Regions from separate parts of the Homo sapiens genome. Here all the other regions are linked to region 4. Evidence: promoter capture Hi-C in human tissues and cell types (Jung and others, 2019). All regions are on one chromosome and are shown on one strand. The core of a region is centred on a gene start or on the middle of the fragment in contact, and the rest is flanking DNA. Distances in the headings are between cores, read along the strand shown. Region 1 has its middle 65 kb from the start of NRN1. Region 2 overlaps F13A1 (coagulation factor XIII A chain). Region 3 has its middle 76 kb from the start of MIR5683. Region 4 holds the start of F13A1 (coagulation factor XIII A chain). Region 5 has its middle 50 kb from the start of MIR5683. Region 6 overlaps LY86-AS1 (LY86 antisense RNA 1).

The links. Contacts are between HindIII fragments. The study calls those that stand out against the background at their distance.
Region 1: a contact is called between a fragment that was not itself captured here and the fragment with the promoter of F13A1 in region 4, in 2 of the 25 tissues and cell types used here (H1 embryonic stem cells and spleen).
Region 2: a contact is called between a fragment that was not itself captured here and the fragment with the promoter of F13A1 in region 4, in 4 of the 25 tissues and cell types used here (H1 embryonic stem cells, dorsolateral prefrontal cortex, mesendoderm cells and 1 more).
Region 3: a contact is called between a fragment that was not itself captured here and the fragment with the promoter of F13A1 in region 4, in 5 of the 25 tissues and cell types used here (bladder, dorsolateral prefrontal cortex, liver and 2 more).
Region 5: a contact is called between a fragment that was not itself captured here and the fragment with the promoter of F13A1 in region 4, in 2 of the 25 tissues and cell types used here (H1 embryonic stem cells and hippocampus).
Region 6: a contact is called between a fragment that was not itself captured here and the fragment with the promoter of F13A1 in region 4, in 1 of the 25 tissues and cell types used here (mesendoderm cells).

Annotation. Positions count from the first base shown.
Region 1 is chr6:6,070,176-6,073,479 of GRCh38, forward strand. No RefSeq gene overlaps it. Among named protein-coding and RNA genes, the nearest start is that of NRN1, 65 kb to the left of the region's middle. The HindIII fragment of the contact is 4,133 bases long and covers 1-3,304 here.
Region 2 is chr6:6,176,871-6,180,391 of GRCh38, forward strand. The region is part of intron 11 of F13A1 (coagulation factor XIII A chain); the gene reads right to left. Among named protein-coding and RNA genes, the nearest start is that of MIR7853, 9.2 kb to the left of the region's middle. RefSeq lists an enhancer at 1,012-1,511. The HindIII fragment of the contact is 3,214 bases long and covers 1-3,192 here.
Region 3 is chr6:6,091,367-6,094,901 of GRCh38, forward strand. No RefSeq gene overlaps it. Among named protein-coding and RNA genes, the nearest start is that of MIR5683, 76 kb to the right of the region's middle. The HindIII fragment of the contact is 3,167 bases long and covers 12-3,178 here.
Region 4 is chr6:6,319,271-6,322,522 of GRCh38, forward strand. It overlaps F13A1 (coagulation factor XIII A chain), which reads right to left and starts at 1,392. Exons shown (of 15, transcript NM_000129.4): 1 at 1,317-1,392. The region is part of intron 1 of LOC124901253 (a long non-coding RNA gene); the gene reads left to right. The HindIII fragment of the contact is 8,313 bases long and covers 1-3,252 here.
Region 5 is chr6:6,117,545-6,121,004 of GRCh38, forward strand. No RefSeq gene overlaps it. Among named protein-coding and RNA genes, the nearest start is that of MIR5683, 50 kb to the right of the region's middle. The HindIII fragment of the contact is 3,395 bases long and covers 1-3,094 here.
Region 6 is chr6:6,524,940-6,528,464 of GRCh38, forward strand. All of the region lies in intron 3 of LY86-AS1 (LY86 antisense RNA 1), which reads right to left. Among named protein-coding and RNA genes, the nearest start is that of LY86, 62 kb to the right of the region's middle. The HindIII fragment of the contact is 6,608 bases long and covers 1-3,525 here.

The DNA of each region.
Region 1 (3,304 bases), core at 588-3,087, 250 kb before region 4:
TGAGAAGAATGTATATTCTGTTGATTTGGGGTGGAGAGTTCTGTAAATGTCTATTAGGTCCACTTGGTCCAGAGCTGAGTTCAAGTCCTGAATATCCTTGTTAATTTTCTGTCTCATTGATCTGTCTAATATTGACTGTGGGGTGTTAAAGCTTCCCATTATTATTGTGTGGGAGTCTAAGTCTCTTTGTAGGTCTCTAAGAACTTGCTGTATAAATCTGGGTGCTCCTGTATTGGATGCATATATATTTAGGATAGTTAGCTCTTCTTGTTGAATTGATCCCTTTACCATTATGTAATGGCCTTCTTTGTCTCTTTTGATCTTTGTTGGTTTAAAGTCTGTTTTATTAGAGACCAGGATTGCAACCCCTGCCTTTTTTTGCTTTCCATTTGCTTGGTAGTTCTTTCTCCATCCCTTTATTTTGAGACTATGTGTGTCTTTGCACATGAGATGGGTCTCCTGTATACAGCACCCTGATGGGTCTTGACTCTTTATCCAATTTGCCTGTGTCATTTAATTAGGGCATTTAGCCCATTTACATTTAAGGTTAATATTGTTATGTGTGAATTTGATCCTGTCATTTGTGATGCTAGCTAGTTATTTTGCCCATTAATTGATGCAGTTTCTTCATAGTGTCAATGGTCTCCACAATTTGGTATGTTTTTGCAATGGCTGGTACCAGTTATTCCTTTCCATGTTTAGTGCTTTGTTCAGGAGCTCTTGTAAGGCAGGCCTGGTGGTGACTAAATCTCTCAGCATTTGCTTGCCTGTAAAGGATTTTATTTCTCCTTCACTTATGAAGCTTAGTTTGGCTGGATATGAAATTCTCGGCTGAAAATTCTTTTCTTTAATAATGTGGAATATTGGCCCCCACTCTCTTCTGACTTGTAGGGTTTCTGCAGAGAGATCTGCTGTTACTCTGATGGGCTTCTTTTCGTGGGTAACCGGACTTTTCTGTCTGCCCTTAACATATTTTCCTTCATTTCAACCTTGGTGAATCTGACAGTTATGTGTCTTGGAGTTGCTCTTCTTGAGGAGTATCTTTGTGGTGTTCTTTGTATTTCCTGAATTTGAATTTTGGCCTGTCTTGCTAGGTTGGGGAAGTTCTCCTGGATAATATCCTGAAGAGTTTTTTCTAACTTGGTTCCATTCTCCCCGTCACTTTCAGGTACACCAATCAAAATGTAGATTTGGTCTTTTCACATAGTCCCATATTTCTTGGAAGCTTTGTTCATTTATTTTCACCCTTTTTTCTCTAATCTTGTCTTCTCACTTTATTTTATTAATTTGATCTTCAATCACTGATATCCTTTCTTCTGCTTGATCTAATCTGCTATTGAAGCTTGTGTATGCTTCATGAAGTTTTCGAACTGTGGTTTTCAGCTCTATCAAGTGTTTTAAGCTCATCTCTACACTGGTTATTCTAGTTATCCATTCATCTAACCTTTTTTCAAGGTTTTTAGCTTCCTTGTGATGGGTTAGAACATGCTCCTTTAGCTCAGAGAAGTTTGTTATTACCCAACTTCTGAAGCCTACTTCTGTCAATTCATCAAACTCATTCTCCCTCCAGTTTTGTTCAATTGCTGACGAGGGGTTGCATTCCTTTGGAGGAGAAGAAACATTCTGGTTTTTGGAATTTTCAGCCTTTCTGCTCTGGTTTCTTCCCAACTTTGTGGTTTTGTCTACCTTTGGCCTTTGATGTTGGTGGCCTATGGATGGGGTTTTGGTGTGGCTATCCTGTTTGTTGATGTTGATGATATTCCTTTCTGTTTGTTAGTTCTCCTTCTAACAGGCAGGCACCTCAGCTACAGATCTGTTGGAGTTTGCTGGAGGTCCACTCCAGACACTGTTTGTCTGGGTATCACTAGCGGAGGCAGCAGAACAGCAAATATTGCTGCCTGATCCTTCCTCTGTAAGCTTCATCCCAGAGGGGCACCAGCCTGTATGAGGTGTCTGTTGGCCCCTACTGGGAAGTGTCTCCCAATCAGGGTACACGGGGGTCAGGGACCCACTTGAGGAGGCAGTCTGTCTGTTTTCAGAGCTTGAACACTGTGCTGGGAGAACCACTGCTCTCTTCAGAGCTGTCAGGCAGGGATATTTAAGTCTGAAGAAGCTGTCTGCTGCCATTTGTTCAGATATGCCCTGCCCCCAGAGTTGGAATCTAGAGAGGCAGTAGGCCTTGCTGAGCTGTGGTGGGCTCCACCCAGTTCGAGCTTCCCTGCCACTTTGTTTACACTGTGAGCTTAGAACCGCCTACTCCCACCTCAGCAATGGCAGACGCCCCTCTCCCTGCCAAGCTCCAGCATCCCAGGGTGATCTCAGACTGCTGCACTAGCAGTGAGCAAGGCTCTGTTGGTGTGGGACCTGCTGAGCCAGGCACAGGAGGGAATCTCCTGGTCTGCTGGTTGTGAAGACTGTAGGAAAAGCACAGTATTTTGGCAGAAGTGTACTGTTCCTCCAGGTACAGTCATTCATGGCTTTCCTTGGCTAGGAAAAGTAAATCCCCCGACCCCTTGCACTTCCTGGGTGAGGAGATGCCCCACCCTACTTCAGCTCACCCTCTGTGGGCTGCAACCATTGTCCAACCAGTCCCAATGAGATGAACGAGTTACCTCAGTTGGAAATGCAGAAATCTCCCGTCTTCTGCATTGATCTCGCTGGGAGCTGTAGACCGGAGGTGTTCCTATTTGGCCATCTTGGAAGCGACTTCCTCCTTCCTTTTCTGAGTTTCAAAACTGTTTATATAGGTTGGGAATTTTATTTTCTAAAAGTCTGAGTAACTTATTTGTAAAACATTTCAAACCTGGAGGCTTTGGGGTAGATACTTCTCTTTCTCCTATTTTTCCAAAGTTACTAATCCATGCCAGTTGCAACAACTAGTTCTTCTCCTCCTCGTCCTCCTCCTCCTCCTCCTCCTCCTTCTTCTTCTGAGATGTATTCTCACTCTGTCACTCAGGCTGGAGTCTCAGCTCACTTCAACCTCTGCTCCTGGGTTCAAACAATTCTGCCCCAGCCTCCAGTGTAGCTGGGACTACAGGCATGTGACACCACTCCTGGATACTTTTTTGTATTTTTACTAGAGACAGGGTTTCACCATGTTAGCCAGGATGGTCTCAATCTCCTGACCTCGTGATCTGCCTGCCTCAGCCTTCCAAAGTGCTGGGATAGCAAGCATGACCACTGCATCAAGCTGCAACTTCTTCACAAGCAATTTTGGCAGCGTCTACATTTGCATAAAATGGTCTATTTTATTGTGATCTTAATATTTTAAACAGAATTGTACATTGTGTTCTATTATAATTTT
Region 2 (3,521 bases), core at 336-2,835, 140 kb before region 4:
AGCCAGCCACAAGCAACTTCACAGCCTGCCATGGGTGCAGGAACCTGGAGCTTCCTTCTGGGGAAGCACTGTCCTCTGTGAGCGGAGACCGCCAAACAGAAGCAGGCTGGGGCTGTTCCAGGAAGCGCAGGCCCAGAGAGGAGAAAACAACTGCACGGCTTTCCCAGAGCCTGGCAGAGTAATTCCTGTTTCTCTACAGTTATGCTGCGTGCTCTGGCATCTTACATAATTCAGGGCCACAGGCAACATTTTAGTGCAGTGAGAGACATATCCAAAGCCAGATTATATTTTCTGAGATTCTTCTGCAGCCTCTGGGTGCAAAGTCAAAAATATCTTTCCATTAACTAGGATGTAATAAGAGAGCCCTTTTATGTTGGACGAAGCCTCTCATTCTTCTGGCTTTAGCTCCACTGTCACCTCCCCTGTCCTCCCCCTCTTACCTTGTGTAATGTGTCCTCAAACCCTAGTGTTCTCGGCTCTCCCTAACACATACCTGGTTTTATTTCCTCTTCCTTGTCACAGTACTAGTTACTGTGTGACATTATCTTCCTTGCTGGAATGCAAGCTCCATGAGAACAGAGACATGTTGTCCACCTCTGCATCCCCAGGCCCTGAAACCCAGCCTGGCACAGAGGATCTGAAGGATTGAGGTTTGGAGAAGCATTTTGCTTTCAGCCAGAGACAAAACTTTCCTCTTCATAATAGTCCAGTTTAGGACATTTTATGTTCAACTAAGCCTAGCTGTGAAAGTGCCTCCCCAGTAACCATTCATTCAAATCATCTCATGCTGTTGGAAACCCCATAATGTTCCAAACACCGTGCTAGGCACTAGGCACAGAGGAGAAACAGTCTTTCCCTCACTGGTGCAGAAGGAACACGTGAAGAGCAATGGCAGCACACAGGTGCTCACCACAGATGCTGGGACGGAGGTTGGCCTGCAGTGCATGGGGAAAGGAAGGGGCATGGGAGGCCTCTCGGAGTTTTTGGAGCGAGGGCAAGACCAGGGATGCAGGTGGGGGGCTTGGCTTGTTGGAGGAACTGCTGGCAGGTCCCTGGCCTCTGCATACAATACCTGTGGGGGCATGCTCAGGAGGTGCAGTGACCAGGTGCCGAAAAGCCACTTAGCAAGAGGCTTTGTGAGTTAGGACTGGATGCCCTGGAGGCCACAGGGAGAGGGGGGGGGGGGTGGGGCTTTTAAGCAGTGCTGGGAGAGGCTCAGGTTTATATTTCAGATATTACTTTGGCAGCAAGGCAGGGGCTAGACTGAGGGAAGGAGGGCCTGAGGAGGTGAGGTGGAATTGGGAAGCTAGAGCAAGTATTTTTCCAGGAGAAAACTAATCATAGCCCAAACTAATAGCAGTAGTATGGCAGGAATAACAGAATTACTAGTAATAGGGGAAACTTTTATTGGACACTTATTATGTGTCAGGCACTATATTAAGAGTTGTACACACCAGATAATATTTAATTTTTAGGCTACAGAGCTGGAGGGGAGGGGATGCATTCGAGAACAATTTCAGAGGGGACATTTAGAGGATTTGTTGCTTAACTCATTCTTAAGTAGCTAAATTTGAGTGGATGGTGGTTCTCTTCACCAGAGTAGGGGGAGTGGGAGAAACGGACCTGAGGTGAGGGAGAGAGTGAGAGGTGTCATTTGGGAAGTTCCGTGTCAGGTTTCTGTAGGACATTTAGGTAAAGTCCCGGTGGAGACACAGACATGGGGTGATGGTACATATGTGAACATTAACACCAGCTATGTGGGAAGAACATCAGGTGGGTGGGAATGGAGCCCAAGGATAGATGCCTAGAATGAAATGGAATTTGAAAAGGGTGAAGAAAGGGGAAAAGCTTATAGTCAAAAAGAGGTAGGAAAAGAGGGTCAGGCAGGAGGGGGTGGAACCAGGAGAAAGTAACATTGTAGAAACAAAGAAAAGACAGAATTGCAAGCAAAGGGAGTGAACAACAGCACCAGGAAGTATAGGAAGGTCAAGTAAGCTGAAGTCTGCAAAATGTTTCTTCCCTGTGACAATTGGGTGGTCTTGGCAACCTTGAGAACAACTTCAAGGAAGTGCTGGTAGCAGAAATCAGGACAGAGTGTGCGCGGAAGGAGTGGAGAAGGAACACAGCAGGACGCAAGTCCAGGCAGCGCTCCAGGACGGCAAGGAGGCGAGGAGGAAGAGACAGTGGTGAAAAAGATTTTTGTAATTTTTGTTTTTAACACAGCAGATATTTGAGCCTGCTTAAATGCTGATTGGAAGGAGAAAATAGAGAGGGAGAGGTGGAAATAACAGTGACCCTGGAAGTAACTGAAGGAGCAAAGAGGGAATGGAATCAAGACACTGTTATCAAAGAAGATATATTGCCACAGGAGAAGTCTTCAGAAATTCTGATTTTCAAAGTCTTATCGTTTCTTAATTATATATCTTGAAAAAAGTTATAAAGTTAATAATAAGCTTTAGTAAGTTGAAGTGAACCTGATCTTTCCATGATTTAATTCATTAAAATAGTTAAGTCCTAAATCTAGTAATAATTTGTTTCCTGTGATTCTACTCATTTCCATATTTTGGTATCTACACTCAGCATTTGTGGATCAGAGAAATTATAAGAGATTCAACGGTGAGAATCAGGGTGGTAAGTACTGAGCCACGGATATGACGAGTCCTCACTGCATGCCAGTGGCCAATGGCGGCCATCAATCCTTCTACCCGCCACATTCAGATGCAGTCTTGGTGTTCTTCTCAAAACAACATTCTACTTGGTCACTTCCAAAGTTCCAGTTTGAAATGTGTATGCCACCCTTGATTAAGAAACTATCCACTTGGGGTCAAACTCCAGCCCCGAAGCAGGATGAGTCGTCGCTTACAACCATCTATGTGGATTTAGGGATTCTTCTAGTTGGACCAGACCTCCACACTGTCCCTCTCCCTCAGCCTTGCCTCCTTGCTAAACTCTAGAGGCCTGGACCTCAGATGTCTTCCTCATGCAGTGCGGACACATTTTGTTTTAATTTGTTATCCACCCCCAGCCAAGCCCCTGACTCCTGTTTCGTGGACTGGGTTTTAGTCTTTCCTCTCGTGGCATCTGATTCTGTCCCATTCCTGAGTTGGCCTTCACTGTCACCTCCATGCTGACAGCTAATGGCAGCTGTGCTCGGCTCCATGGTTTCCAAGAGACATCTGTCATGTGGACAGCTCGCTTCCTGCTGCCCCTAGCTGCCTGTAGGTGCAACTTTTCTTCACTACTCTGTCTGGTCAGGACTTCTTCCAAATACGAGAGTTCTCACCACAGTCCTTGCCTTACTGCCTTTTCTTGGGGACCTCTTTCCCCAGCTTCATCTGCCAATTCTTGTGTGTCCTTTGGGCTTAGTGAGCCCATCACTAACTTCCTCCACGAGGTCTTCCCCAACTGCCGATTCTTGGCTGAGAGCCTTTCTCTGTGCCCGGCAGCACCCGTCCACCCTGTGCCAGAGCAATTCTCACCCAGCACAGTGAGGGCTGCCTTCTGCTTTTCTCCCCAGCTGC
Region 3 (3,535 bases), core at 345-2,844, 230 kb before region 4:
CCTTGCTGCATTAGGGTATTTAGGTCATTTCTTGCCCTCAAACAGACCAATGAATACTTTGAAAAATGGAGAGAAGGTGACTCATCAAGTGAAAGCACCTAAAATATGTATCAGTTTTTCTTCTTTTGCCATGAAACAATGCTTTTTCCAAAGAAACAAACATAGAGTTCTGAAGAAATTGTAATCAATGCCTTTCAAAATCAATAGTAATGATTTTGGATTTGAAGTACTGGAAATATTTGGAGAGTCGATGGCAACATTTGGAGCCATTTTGTGAGCCAAAGGGCTTTTGTTCTACACCTGGAAAATGCCCCAAACAATTACCAACAGTGTGTAATGTTCATAGTGCAAAATGACTGTCCCAGTGTGAGTGAGGAGCTCAGATGGTAGAAATCCACTTTGCCCAATTTAGCTCTTGGGACCACTGAAAATGACCCCTACATTGAATGGAATCCAGGAAAAGAGAAACCTCACTACTTTCAGTTTGAGTGTTCTCCCTCAACCCTGATTATGCTGAGTGAAACAATGAATGTAGAGGAGAGTGTTTTCTGCATCTTCTTCACAGCCTCATGCCAGTATCTAACACACTTAATGCTACTTTATATTTCTGGCCAACCCCTATAATCCACTTACGATAGATTTTTGAACTGCTGTCAGTGCCCATGCCCTACCTCATGCACCAGCAGTGATGGACATGTCCTCCATAGCTAATAAAAGAGAGACAGTTATCGGAACTATTTTCTAGTTGCAGGAAATTCTCCTGTGTGAGTAAAGCTCTCTGTTTGAAAAATGAACTGCTTATGCTGTTCAGTAAGTTCACAAGCTGTTCAGTAAGTTCACAGGGGTGGAATTAGGATGGTACCCTCTGTGCTTTAATTCCCCAAAATTCAAGATCCAACTATGAGGGATCCCTCCCAGTGATAATGTTGAGGTTGAAAACCTTTCCAGCATTTTTATATGTTCCCTTTCTTGTAACTCTTGATCAAGGCTTCTTACAAAGCCCAGTCTTTCTAGGTCAGCTTCCTAACAAGATCAAGTCATAGGATTTTCTTTCGCCCTTGTACATCCGTCTAGGATTATCTCTCCCACTTTATAAACCACCTTTCCTAACTCCCTTTGGTCCTTCTTAGGAAATTTTTCTTTCCTTTTTAATTCACGGATCGATAGAAGGCCAGCAGGAGTACCACCAAGTCATAGATTCATTCCTTCACCTCAAAATCAGTCACATCAAAGACAAAAATGCCACCAGTTTAGGTGAGCATGGAAAGCTTGGCTAGAAAGAGAGAGAAAGAAAGGTGAAGGAGAACACTTCTTAATATTTTCTCTCTTTACCCCTCAAAAATTTTTATGACTTGTTGCCAAAAAATGACATAGATTTGTTGCACGTTGCTTTGCTCCTTCTTTTCCGCTAACAGTATCTTAGCTTAGATGTATAAACTTAAGGACCAGAGGCTGGGGCAGATAAATATCTAGTCAAACTTCATTGCATTTAATGCAACCTTCACTGGCCTTCCTATGTCTGCCCTTGTCCTCCTTTGGTCATAGTCAACAGAGCAGCTGGAGTGATTCTGTTAAAATCAAAGTCAGGTCACACGACTCCTATACCCAAAAGCCTCTGGTAGTTTCCCACTTCAGAGTAAAAGCAAGGCACCTGGAATGGCTCTAAAGCCCTATGTGATAAAATCTGCACTTACCTTTTTGACCTCAGCTTCCAGAACTTCGCACTTATTCACCTCTGCTCCAGCCACCTGGTTTCCTTGCTGTTCTTTGAATGTGACAGATACTTTTCTGCCTCCAAACGTTGCTCTTGTTATTCCTCAGTTTGGGAAACGTTTACCCAAGAGATGTACGTGGCTCACATCCTCTTTTTCTTCAGGTATTTTCTCAGTTGTCAACTCTTTTCTGAGGCCTTCCTTGCCTAGTTCATCTAAAATTACAATACCTACCACACTGTTATTTAACTAAATTGTTTATTACCTGTCTCCCTCAACCAGAATCTATGCACCATGAGGGCAGATATTTTGTCTGCTTTGATCACTGCCCTGTGGCTTGTGCTCCGGCACAGAGGAGGTAATGATGCAATGTGTTGAATGAGCAGATGCATCACATCACCCCACTGGGGGCCAGTCAAGCCATGAGATGGGAATAAATTAATTGCTCCCTCAACTGTGATCTGTCTTAACAGATGTTTTGTGGCTGTGACTACAGTGTTTGTGAAAGTTGACCTTGATAGTTTGTGAAGAAAATTGATTTGTCACTGATAGAATTGCAAGTCACTGATGGAAAGTAAAATGATCCAGAGTGAGAAAGAGAATCAAAGCATCTTGATAACTGTCATTAACCAGGAGTAATGTCAAAGTAGCTCATCGAATCACAGAAAATGAAAGTATAGGAACGTCAGCATCAGCCTTCCTGTGCTAAAATTCGCTGTCATTGAGAGGTTGCTTTTCTGGGTATATTTTAAATATTCCCATCTGGTACATGATCAGGGTCTGTTAGGAGATGAAGCTTGATTTTGATCCTGGATTCTTTCAGTCCATCACATTTGGATAAGGGGGAAATACTGGATTAGTACCAGACTTTGTCTATCCTTATGGAACATCTTGTTCATTTGTTATTTTCATTCTCACCTTCTACCTTGTATAGAATATGTGCAATACAAATTAGGGGGCCTATTTGTTTGTTTTTGGCATGTTAGTTCACAAAATGGTCAAACCAGCCATGCAACCTTGTCCTATTATTGATTATTCATCCAAGAATTGACTCCTGCTTGCCTGTGAGTAAACTACCTCATACTGGAGAAACTTCTGTCTGTGTAGCTCACACATCCATCAAGATATGGAATGTTACCCCAAGAACTATTGAAATAAACTTTTTAAATAGAGTATTTCCTTATCCGAGAAAATCCTTTTTCCCCTTCAAAGTCAATCCTTGCCTTTGCCCATACTCACAAGGAGGCAACAATTTTTCTGATTTATACCAACATAGATTAGTTTTGCCTATTCTTTAATTTCATTTAAATAGAATTGTATTGTGTCTGACTTTTTTTTGCTCAGCAAAATGATTTCGTGATTCATTCATGTTGTCGCATATGCATGTATTAATAGTTTGCTCCTTTTTATTGCTGAGGGTTATTCCTTGTATGAATGTAACCACAATTTGCTTATTTATTCTTATCTTGAGAATATTTTCCCCAACCCACCCAGTTTTATTGCTCTTATGAAGAAAGCTGCTATTGAAATTCATGTACAATACTTTTTATGTACATTTATTTTTCATTTCTCTTGGATAAATACCTAGAAGTAGAATTGCTGGTTCATAGGAGGTATATATATATATATATATATATATATATATACACACACACACACGATATATATATACACGATATATATATATATACACGATACACGGACGCCTGTAGTCCCAGCTACTCGGGAGGCTGAGGCAGGAGAACGGCGTGAACCCTGGAGGCAGAGCTTGCAGTGAGCCGACATCGCGCCACTGCACTCCAGTCTGGTCGACAGAGCGAGAC
Region 4 (3,252 bases), core at 142-2,641:
GATAGGGTTAGGGTGGAGCCCAAGAAGAGCCATAAGTAAATCCACTTAGGGGTGAGGAGGTAGGAACTGCTTTGGAAATTGAGCCACATGGAGGAGGATAAGGAGGTGGAGAGGTTGGGCATGCAATTTTCAATAGGGCTATCAATAGGCTTAAGAAGTCAGGGTTGCCAACATTTCCCATTCCCCAAGCCTGCTTCCCCTTCCCTTGGAGCTTGTGCAGGCACTGAGCCAGTTTAAACAACACACACCTGACGGTCAGTGCCCAGTAAGTACTTGTTGACCAAATGACCAAATGAAGGGGGACTTTGTTTCTGGGCCCAGTGAAGGTTCCCCCTTGATCCCCTGGATTACCCAGTCATGACTCCTGGAGACTTGGCTATTTTCAAAAACCAGGCACACCCCCAAGAGGTGAAGAGTCCCCATTATAGAGGCCACCAGAGTAGAGAGATGGTTCCAGAGACATGTGGAGCACTAACAACATGCTGGAGAAAAGACAACCACGCCTAAGGTGTCTGGTCTGAGAAGGAGACAGGAGTGTTTGGATGCATAAGGTGTGAATGGGTATCCATAAGTATAGATAAATATATTTACAGTCATTGGTGAGCTGACGGGGGAAGGGAGGGAGAAGAGCGAAAAAGGGTTAATGATAGGGAGAAGGCTGCGAGAGCCATCCTCTAGTGAGAAATACCGAAGGTAGGCTGCGGCATTGCCAGGGGTGCAGAACAGTGTGGCGCGCTGTCGGGAGACACAGTGCTAAGGGGGAGAAGGGGGGAGCCCCAGGTGCACGCCTGGCTGGGTGAGTGCGGCGGGCAGGAGCCCTCGCTTCTGGGCGGGTCTAAGGAGGAGAAGTGGCTCGAGTTCAGCTCCAAATTGGGACGGAGGCAGGCGATGCGCAGGAGTGGGGAGGCGCGCAGGAGTGGGGAGCCAAGCCGGCGGGGTTCCAGTCTAGCAGGCTGTTCTCACTTGGCCCCACTCCCTCCACCTTTTGTGTTCCAGCTCCATAATCTGCTCCCTGAGGAAAGGGGGCTCGTCCCTTGGGGAAGCACCTCCAACTCCCCCATCCCCATTTGGTGGCATTCTAAGCAAGCAACGGCTTCGGGAGAGCTGCCTCGAGAGCCTGAGAGAAGTCCCGCTTAGAAGCTGGGCTGGGCAGGTGCGGAGTTGGGGGCGGGAAGCCAGGATTGGGCAAGTGGAGCTGCCTGTGACCGGCGCCACAGGGCCCAGAGCAAGCCGCTTGCTGGTTCAACCAGGAAACCGAGGTGCAGAAGGTGGACGCAGCGGGCCCTGGCTCATAGGGTGCAGGGTCGGTGGCTTACCTGCAGGCGCTCCCCTCCAGAGGTGCCCTCGCGTGGGCTTGCTCTGTGCGCCTCGGGGACTTCCTCAAACGGACTCGGGAAAGACAAGACAGTTGGCTCTTAAATAACTTCCTAAGAGGAGCCCTCACCCTCCTCCCCTGTCCCACAGGGTTTTCTCCTCCCCCTTCTCCACAGCTGGAGCCAGTAGGGGAGCTCAGAGGATTTTCTATTTACTTCATCTGGCCTGTTATCCCGGCAGGTGCGCCCTTCTCTCCCACTTGCCCCTCTGACTCCCAATTTCCCATTCCCACTTCTCCTCCCCATCCCCATCCCTAGATCTGCCCTCCCCACCGCAACCAGTTGCTGGGAGTACCAGGCAAGGGGCCCTGCAGTGCCAGGAAGTCCCCACCCGTCCCCTTTGGTCAGAGGGTCTGGGAGGGTTTCCTTTACAAAGGAATGCTTTTGCCTGGCAGGTCAGCTGCTACTGTGGCTTGGCAGGAGGGGGGTCTGCCCTCCCACAGACAGGTCACACAGACAGTTGTGACCATGCATGCAGTGAGAGCAACGTGTCCCTCCTGTGCAAATAAGGCATGGTCTGCATTCCTGAATCATCCCAGAGCCACAGCCACCGCCTAACCACAAGACTTCCTGCAGGAATGGGATGCCTAGCCCCAAGGAAGATGAGTAAACATCTTTAATAATGCCATGCAGATTAGAAAATAACACTTGGTTTTCTCTGAAAATCATTTTAGTGCATGTTCAAAAATTAGAAAATTTTCCCCCTAAAATTTTAATTTTTTTCTTTTACTCTTTCTTTCTTTCTTTCTTTCATCTTTCTATCTTTCAGATGAAGTCTTGCTCTGTTGCAAAGGCTGGAGTGCAACCTCCACCTCCCGGGTTCAAGTGATTCTTCTGCCTCAGCCTCCCAAGTAGCTGGAACTACAGGTGCATGCCACCATGCCCGCCTAATTTTTGTATTTTTAGTAGAGATGGGGCTTTACCATGTTGGCCAGGCTGGTCTCGAACTTCTGACCTCAGGTGATCCACCCTCCTTGGCTTCCCAAAGTGTTGGGATTACAGGCGTGAGCCACCGCACCCAGTCAAACATGGCTATTTCTAACCTTCTTTACTGTCTTCAAATTTCTGACCCTGCCACTCAATCTCCCAATGTTATAAAGAAGAAAAAAAAAGATGCCATTGGTTAGAAATTCTCTCAATTTTCTGCTACCAATCTATGAACCTGCCTGCAACCTTATCTATCTTTTCCTCTTTCTTCTTGTTACTGAAGTTGGAAAGGTCCCTCCTCCCTCTGCATCTCCAAACCAGGCTTCTGCGTTGCCTTGTTCTCCGGGGCTTTGCTGTGACTCTTACGTACTCTTCCTCTTGCAGCTTCAAGCTCCTGCTTGCTAATAGTGGGTCTTCTCAGCATTCATGCAATTTCAGGTCTCTTCAGTATTTTTTTAAAAACCTCCCCCAACCTATGTCCCCACTCCTGCTGTTACTCCTCCTCTCCTCCCCTTCATCACTAAGTATCTGCCATCTGGCTTCCGCCTCATCATTCTACTGAAAGTGGAGGTCACGGTCTCCAAGGCCTGTGCTCAGGCCAAAAGACAGGATTCAGTTCTTATTTACCTGACCTTTTGGAAGCATTGAACTCTGTCTTTGAAGGTATTTTTCCTAGGCCTCCTTGACATTGAACACTCTGTGGTTTCCTCCAGTGCAGCGCAATATTCCTTGATTGTCTGAGGAACTCCCATAGTTTTCAAATTCCATCTATATCCTGACACCTCCCAAATCTGGGTCTTTAGCCAAGATCTTTTCCAGAATTGCAGATTCCCGTATCTAAGTGCCTACTGGCTATCCTCATTTGTCACATCCCAGTGACAACACACGCTCATCATGTCTAACATGAGATGTATCACTTTCCTGGAAAACCTGGTGCATCTCAGGAGTTCCC
Region 5 (3,460 bases), core at 147-2,646, 200 kb before region 4:
TTCTAATTTGATTGCACTGTGGTCTGAGAGACTGTTTGTTATGATTTTAGTTCTTTTGCATTTGCTGAGGAGTGTTTTACTTCCAGTTATGTGTCTGATTTTAGAATAAGTGCCATGTGGCCCTGAGAAAAATGTATATTCTGTTGAATTGGGACGAAAAGTTCTGTAGATGTCTATTATGTCCGTTTGATCCATAGCCGAGTTCAAGTTGTAAATATCTTTGTTAATTTTCTGTCTTGTTGATCTGTCTAATATTGACAATGGGGTGTTAAAGTCTCCCACTATTATTGTGTGGAAGTCTAAGTCTCTGTATAGGTCCCTAAGAACTTGTCTTAGGCATCTGCATGCTCCTGTATTGAGTGCATATATATATAGGATAGCTAACTCTTCTTGTTGCATTGATCCTTTTACCATTATTTAATGCCCTTCTTTGTCTTTTTTTTATTTTTGTTGGTTTAAAGTCTGTTTTATCAGATGCTAGGATTGCAACCCCTGCTCTTTTTTTGTCTTCCATTTGCTTGGTAAATATTTCTCCATCCATTTATTTTGAGTCTATGTGTGTCTTTGCATGTGAGATGGGTCTCCTGAACACAGCACACTGATAGGTCTTGACTCTATTCAGTTTGCCAATATGTGTCTTTTAATTTAAGGCATTTAGCCCATTTACATTTAAGGTTAATATTTTTATGTGTGAATATGACCCTGTCATCATGATGCTAGCTGGTTATTTTGCACACTAGTTGAAGCTGTTTCTTCATAGTGCCATTGGTCTTTATAGTTTGGTGTGTTTTTGCAGTGGCTGGTACTGGTTTTTCCTTTCCATATTTCATGCTTTCTTCAGGAGCTCTTGCTAAGCAGGCCTGGTGGTGATAAAATCCCTTAGCATTTGCTTGTCTGGGAAGGATTTTATATCTCCTTCACTTATGAAGCTTAATGTGGCTGAATATGAAATTCTGGGTTGCAAATTATTTTCTTTAAGAATGTTGAATGTTGGCTCCCACTGTCTTCTGGTTTATAGGGTTTCTGCTGAGAGGTCTGCTGTTAGTGTGGTGGGCTTCCCTTTGTAGGTGATCTGACCTTTCTGTCTGGCTGCCCTTAACATTTTTACCTTCATTTGACCTTGGAGAATCTGATGATTATGTGTCTTGGGGTTTTGTAGTAGGCTAATCAAGATTTCATAATAGTTTGAAAATTTAACTTTTATCATTAAAATATGTATCTGAGAGAGAACTTTTAATAATTCATTGACTGTGATAATTGATTCTTTGTAAACATGTTTGGGGTCATAATTTTAAAAACCAAACTGTCTTTTACTAAAGAAAGTTGAAGAAAATTATTTCTTATATATTTCATAAGGAAAGATCACAGTACAAATAGAAATCAACAAATTCATCAAACGAAGCTACTCCTGACTTTTGTGCATGTTCTGTTGACTATAAAATTGTGTAAATTATTAATGAAACTTTCATATTTTTTCCTGATTTTTATTTATCTTAATTTTTAAAATTGTTGCTTCCTGGCTGGGAGTGTACAGGTTCTCATAATCTTCTTTATTTTTTTCTGTTGTCATTTCCATCATCCATCTTTTTTACTATCCTGTTTTGTTTGTTTTGTTTTGTCTTGAGATGGAGTCTCTTTCTGTGGCCAGGCTGGAGTGCAGTGGTGCCATCTTGGCTCACTGCAACCTCCGCCTCCTGGGTTTTAAGTGATTCTCCTGCCTCAGCCACCGATTAGCTGGGACCCAGGCATATGCCACCATGCCCAGCTAATTTTTTGTATTTTTAGTAGAGATGGGGTTTCACCATGTTGGCCAGGATGGTCTCGATCTCTTGACCTTGTGATCTGCCCACCTCAGCCTCCCAAAGTGCTGGGATTACATGTATGAACCACTGCACCCGGCCTTTAAAAAAAAATTTTCTGATATTGACTATTACAGGGTGTACTTTCCCTTGCAATAACATTAACGAGCTTTGACATTTGCCTTTTTATTTTGACATCATTTCAAACTTAAAGAAAAGTTGAAAGTATGCATACAAAAACCTTTCATGCTTAACCATTTCAATGTAAGTTGCTGACACGATACCCCATCACTTTCTGAAAACTTTAGAGTATATTTTCACTGAACAGTGGCATTCATCTACATACCTATAACAGAATCATCAACATCAGAAAACTAATCCTCCATATTAATTTATTTATTAATGTCATTAACATCGAATCCTAAGGCCCTGTTCGCATTTCAACAATGGTCCCAACAATGCTCTTTATGGCAAAATAATCATGTCTTCAGAGTCCTTCAACCTCAAACAATTACCCAGTCTCTCCTTGGCTTTCATGACCTTGACAATTTTGAAGGTTACAAAACAGCTATTTTGTAAAGTGTTTCTTTCCCTCCCCCCTTTTTTTTGTTTGTGCAAATTTATAGCATACATGTGAAATTTTGTTACATGTATATAATGTGTAGTGATCAAGTCAGGGTATTTAGGGTGTTTATTATCTAAGTACAATACATTTTTGTTAACTATTGTCACCTTACTCAGCTATCAAACATTGAATGTATTCCTGCTGTTTAACTATATGTTTGTACCCTTTAACCCACTTCTTTTTAGCCTCCTTCCAGCTCCCCTCACCTTTACCAGTTTCTGTTATCTATCTTTTCACTCTCTATCTCCATGTGATCAAGTATTTTTAGCTCCCACATATAAATGAGAACATGCAATATTTGTCTTTTTAGGCTTAGCTTATTTTATATAAGGTAAATACCATCAGTTCCATCCATATTGCTGAAAATGTCATAATTTTGTTTGTTTTTATTGTCAAATAGTATTTCATTCTGTATATATGCCACATTTTCTTTATCCAATCATCCATTGATGGACATCCATTGGTGGACTGGACTGGGTGATTCCCAGGATCCCGGATCGGGTCATCAAATATTGGAGGAAGGGGACTGGGGCAGCAGACTTGTCCTTAGATTCCCTCATAGTGCATTCAGTTGCCAGCTGTGATAGTCAATGTCAGCTATCACCCATGCTGCCGGAATGCTCAACTGTGGGAAGAGATGGCTGTGCTGTGGGCCTGCCACTACAGAGTGCAGAGTCCGTCTTAACTGGAACAGCATAGGCAGGTAGCTGTGGGGAGTGCAGTTTGCTTACTCCTCACTTTGCCATGCCCCCAGCCCCCACAAGCAGCCCATAACAGTGGCAATGGGATTTGTCTTCAAAGAATGTGAAAGGGCCTGGCTTCTCCCTCTCTCTTTAGACCAGCAGCAGCAGGAACAATATTGTCACTGGCTGCAGGGCAGGATGCAGACTTTTGGAAGCTAGGCCTTCAGAATCATGACAGATGAAGACTTACCACCAGGGAGAATAGAGTCCCTCTCAGCTGGAGCAGTGTAGGCAGATAGCTGTGACAAGTGCAGTTTGCTCATACCTTGGTCCCTGATATAGTTTTGATATTT
Region 6 (3,525 bases), core at 401-2,900, 210 kb after region 4:
GTTTGAATGTATTAACCTAAATCTCACAAGAACACGCTCCAAGAACATCCTGTCCCATAAAACCATAGGAAAGAGGAGCATCTTAGGTTGGGCTCTCCAGAAGCAGATCCTGTGAGGAGGATTCCTGTGCAAATGACTTTTTGAACATGCTCTTAGAGGAAGCCAGTAAGAGCGGGGAGCAGGGCTGGGAAGGGAAGAGGCCAAGCAAGAAGGTGAACTCACTCAGGCAAAGTCTTGCAGAGAGTTAGGCTGCAGGGAGCTCAGGAGTGTAAGGCCTGTTCTGCCATGCAAGGGAGCTGAGGCTTTCAGACCCCTGTAGCCAACAGCCATTGGATAAGCTCACCCCAAGCAGATGTAAATTCCCCTGGCACTTCCAGCTCTCAGGTTGTGCATGCCAGGGAGGCTCGAGCACCCTGAGATTGTGGAAGAAGAAAGCCCCCTCAAGCCAACAGGCACACAAGAATGGCACAAAGGAAAGTAGCAATGATTGGGCAATGCACAGACATTATCTGCTATAAGGAGCAAAGAATGAAATCTGAGAGATTCAGTTTTCCCATATACAAAATAAGGTTAACGGTCCAGCACCCATCATCTGTAAAACAGGGAAGGTACTAACGCCTGCTTCATTGGGTGGTTGTGAGGATCGCATTAGACAATTGAGGAAGACATGTCTTCAGCTCTCAGAAATACCAGCGTCTGTAAATACCTACAAGCAAGTAGAACAGCAATTTCAGCTGGGCCTATGGCTCCAGTTATTTTGCCAAAAGAAATGTAGTGACCACACACGTATCCAAAAATCTCTGAGGTCTCTACCGTCTCTCAGCAATTTGGAGAATGCAGGAGGAACTTGGACAACTTCTAGGGGGAATTTAAAAAGCACTTTAAAAAGCATGAACCCACCAGTTTGAACTGTACACAAAGCATTTCTTTCTAAAAATGTCCACCTCGGGTCTGTACAGTGGTTTTTGCCCTGTTCGTCTCTCAGGCACACTTACGAGGAGAGCTTTCAATGCATCCAAACAATTGCTTACAAGCACCAACCTACCGTGAGGTTAGCCCCACACTGAGCTGAGGAGCCATGAGGGAGCTGTTTCTATGGCATTTGAGTAGCACAAAATGTGATTTTTCTCTGGAGAAGACTTTTGAGAATTAGAGGGAATTAGTCATATTTTCCAATGTGGGAATTTTAACAGTTGTGAAATTATGAAGAAGACCTGACTCAACAATTTCAATATTGCAATATGTCACCTAGCTGTCTTGTTACTCAAAATTACATGATTTAAAAGACAGTGACTTTAAAAAGAACCCAACCAAGGTTTGAAAGAAAAAGGAGATATGCAGACAAAGCAAAGGAAAAATATAAAATTGCTGAACATTTACAGAGCTAAGTTTAACAATTCTGGGCTCATTTAATACAGTTTTTATCTTAAATAGAACATTGAAAGGCATGTTTATCCTCTCAGTGAATTATATGTTAGAAATGCACTCTTTAAACAGTGGGTTTTTTTAAACCTACAATATGGAATCTGAACTGGATTTAACATGTTGCTAAATATTCAAATGGGTCATCCCTTCATACTCCCTTTTCGTAGGTTAAAAAAAGATGAGCAGACGTTCCGGACAAAGATGAGTAAAGCCAATTCAAGACCACCTTTGTGCTATACTTTTTCCAGCCTCTTAATTAGGCTACTCCTCATTAACTACCCTAAATGAGCTACAAATAATGATCGGGTCCTGTCCTTTATATATGAAAATTAGTCTATTAGCAAGTGCATGACTAGGGTATTTTCCAGGAGTAGTGAAGGGTTTGAATTTTTTCAAGTACACTCTCTCTGGGCTTTCCTTGTCCTCAAAAGCATACCTTTGCAGGACAGCTAGCCAGGGTGAGAAGGAAAGTAAAAGACTCTAAAACAGACCATTCTAATGAGCTTGGTCTCATTAACATTGGGTGATAATTAGGTAACCTATCCAGAACAAATGAAACACTGGGCAAATTTGAAGAGATATAGATAGCTCCATGGAATGTTAAATACAAAGCTAGAAGTGGTATTAGCCCTTGACTAACTAAATGAATCACTGAATAGAACAAGCACTAGTGCTTATAATCAAGAACCTTAAGGAAAAAAGGGTGGGTGTTATGGTAAAAGAATGATTGCTACCTACAACTCACCAAATTCCCACATACACACATTTCCTGACATATATTTTCTCCTATTGTAATAATACCAATTGAATATGTTAAGAGACCCCAGGCTTATTGTAAACAGTTAAGAAAGAGTATCTAAATCATCCCAAAGAAGTTTATTCCAATTTGTTAACTTCAAAAACTTATCACTCTTTATGCACTTTCAACAAAATAGTTGTCCTCAAATCGATCTATAAATTAAATGCAATTCCAATCAAAATTCTGGCAGAATCTTGTATGAACTTGACAAATTCATTTAGAAAGCTATCTGGAAGAACAAAGCAAGGAAACTTGCTTATCCAGACACTAAGAAACAACAAAGATTAAGTAATTAAAAAGAAAAAAAATATGGTCTTGGCATTGCCTAAGACAGAGATCAATGGAACAGAACAGGAAGCCCAGAAACAAACCCAAGTAAATGTGTGAATTTGTTCTGTAGCAGAGATGGCATTATAAATGAGTGAGGAAAGGATGAAACTTTTTAGTAGCTGATGTTAGGAAAACTTCACAACATAAAGACAAATATCTACCTCATGGCATATAAAAATTCAATTCTAAATTGATTAAAAACCCAGATATGAAAATTGAAACTATGAAATAAGTATAAAATTTTTTTTTAATATTGTGACATTAGGATGTACGGAAAGAGTTTTCAAATAACACTCTAAAAACACAAGGTGAAAAAAAAATTGACTACAACAAAACTGAAGATTTCCGTTCAATGTAGAATATCACAAACAGGGTTAACATATAGGTGATAGAATAGGAGAAGAGAATGCAATATCTAAAATAAATTGGAGGTTAATATCAAAGTTATACAAGGAATTCCTACAAATTAACAAAAACATATAGAAAGCTCAATTTTAAAATGTCCAATGTATAATAGGTAATTCACAGAAGGAAGAACTCAAATAATTAATAAATACATGAAGAAATCCTCAACTTTATCCAACAATAATTGTTGATATGTAAATTAAAACAACTTTATGACCATTTGGTTGACAAAAATGTGAACATTGGTAAATACCAAATGTTAGTGATGATGTTGGCATACAAAAACTTCTTGCACTGCTGGTGTGAGAGAATACTGGTTATGATATATGAGATTATTGTTCAAATATATTCACTACTTCTCTGCCACTTCCATCAGAGGAGTATATCTCCTCTCGTGATTGGGCTTGGCCATGTGACTCAATGTGGTCTCATGGTAGACACCCCTGTGCACTTCTCTGCTGCTGGACTTAAAACCTGGCCATGTGACTTGTTTTGGGCAATACTATGTTAAGAGAAGTGACTTGAGCAGAGGCTCAACATGTGGTTGCTTGGTTAGGCTTTATCCC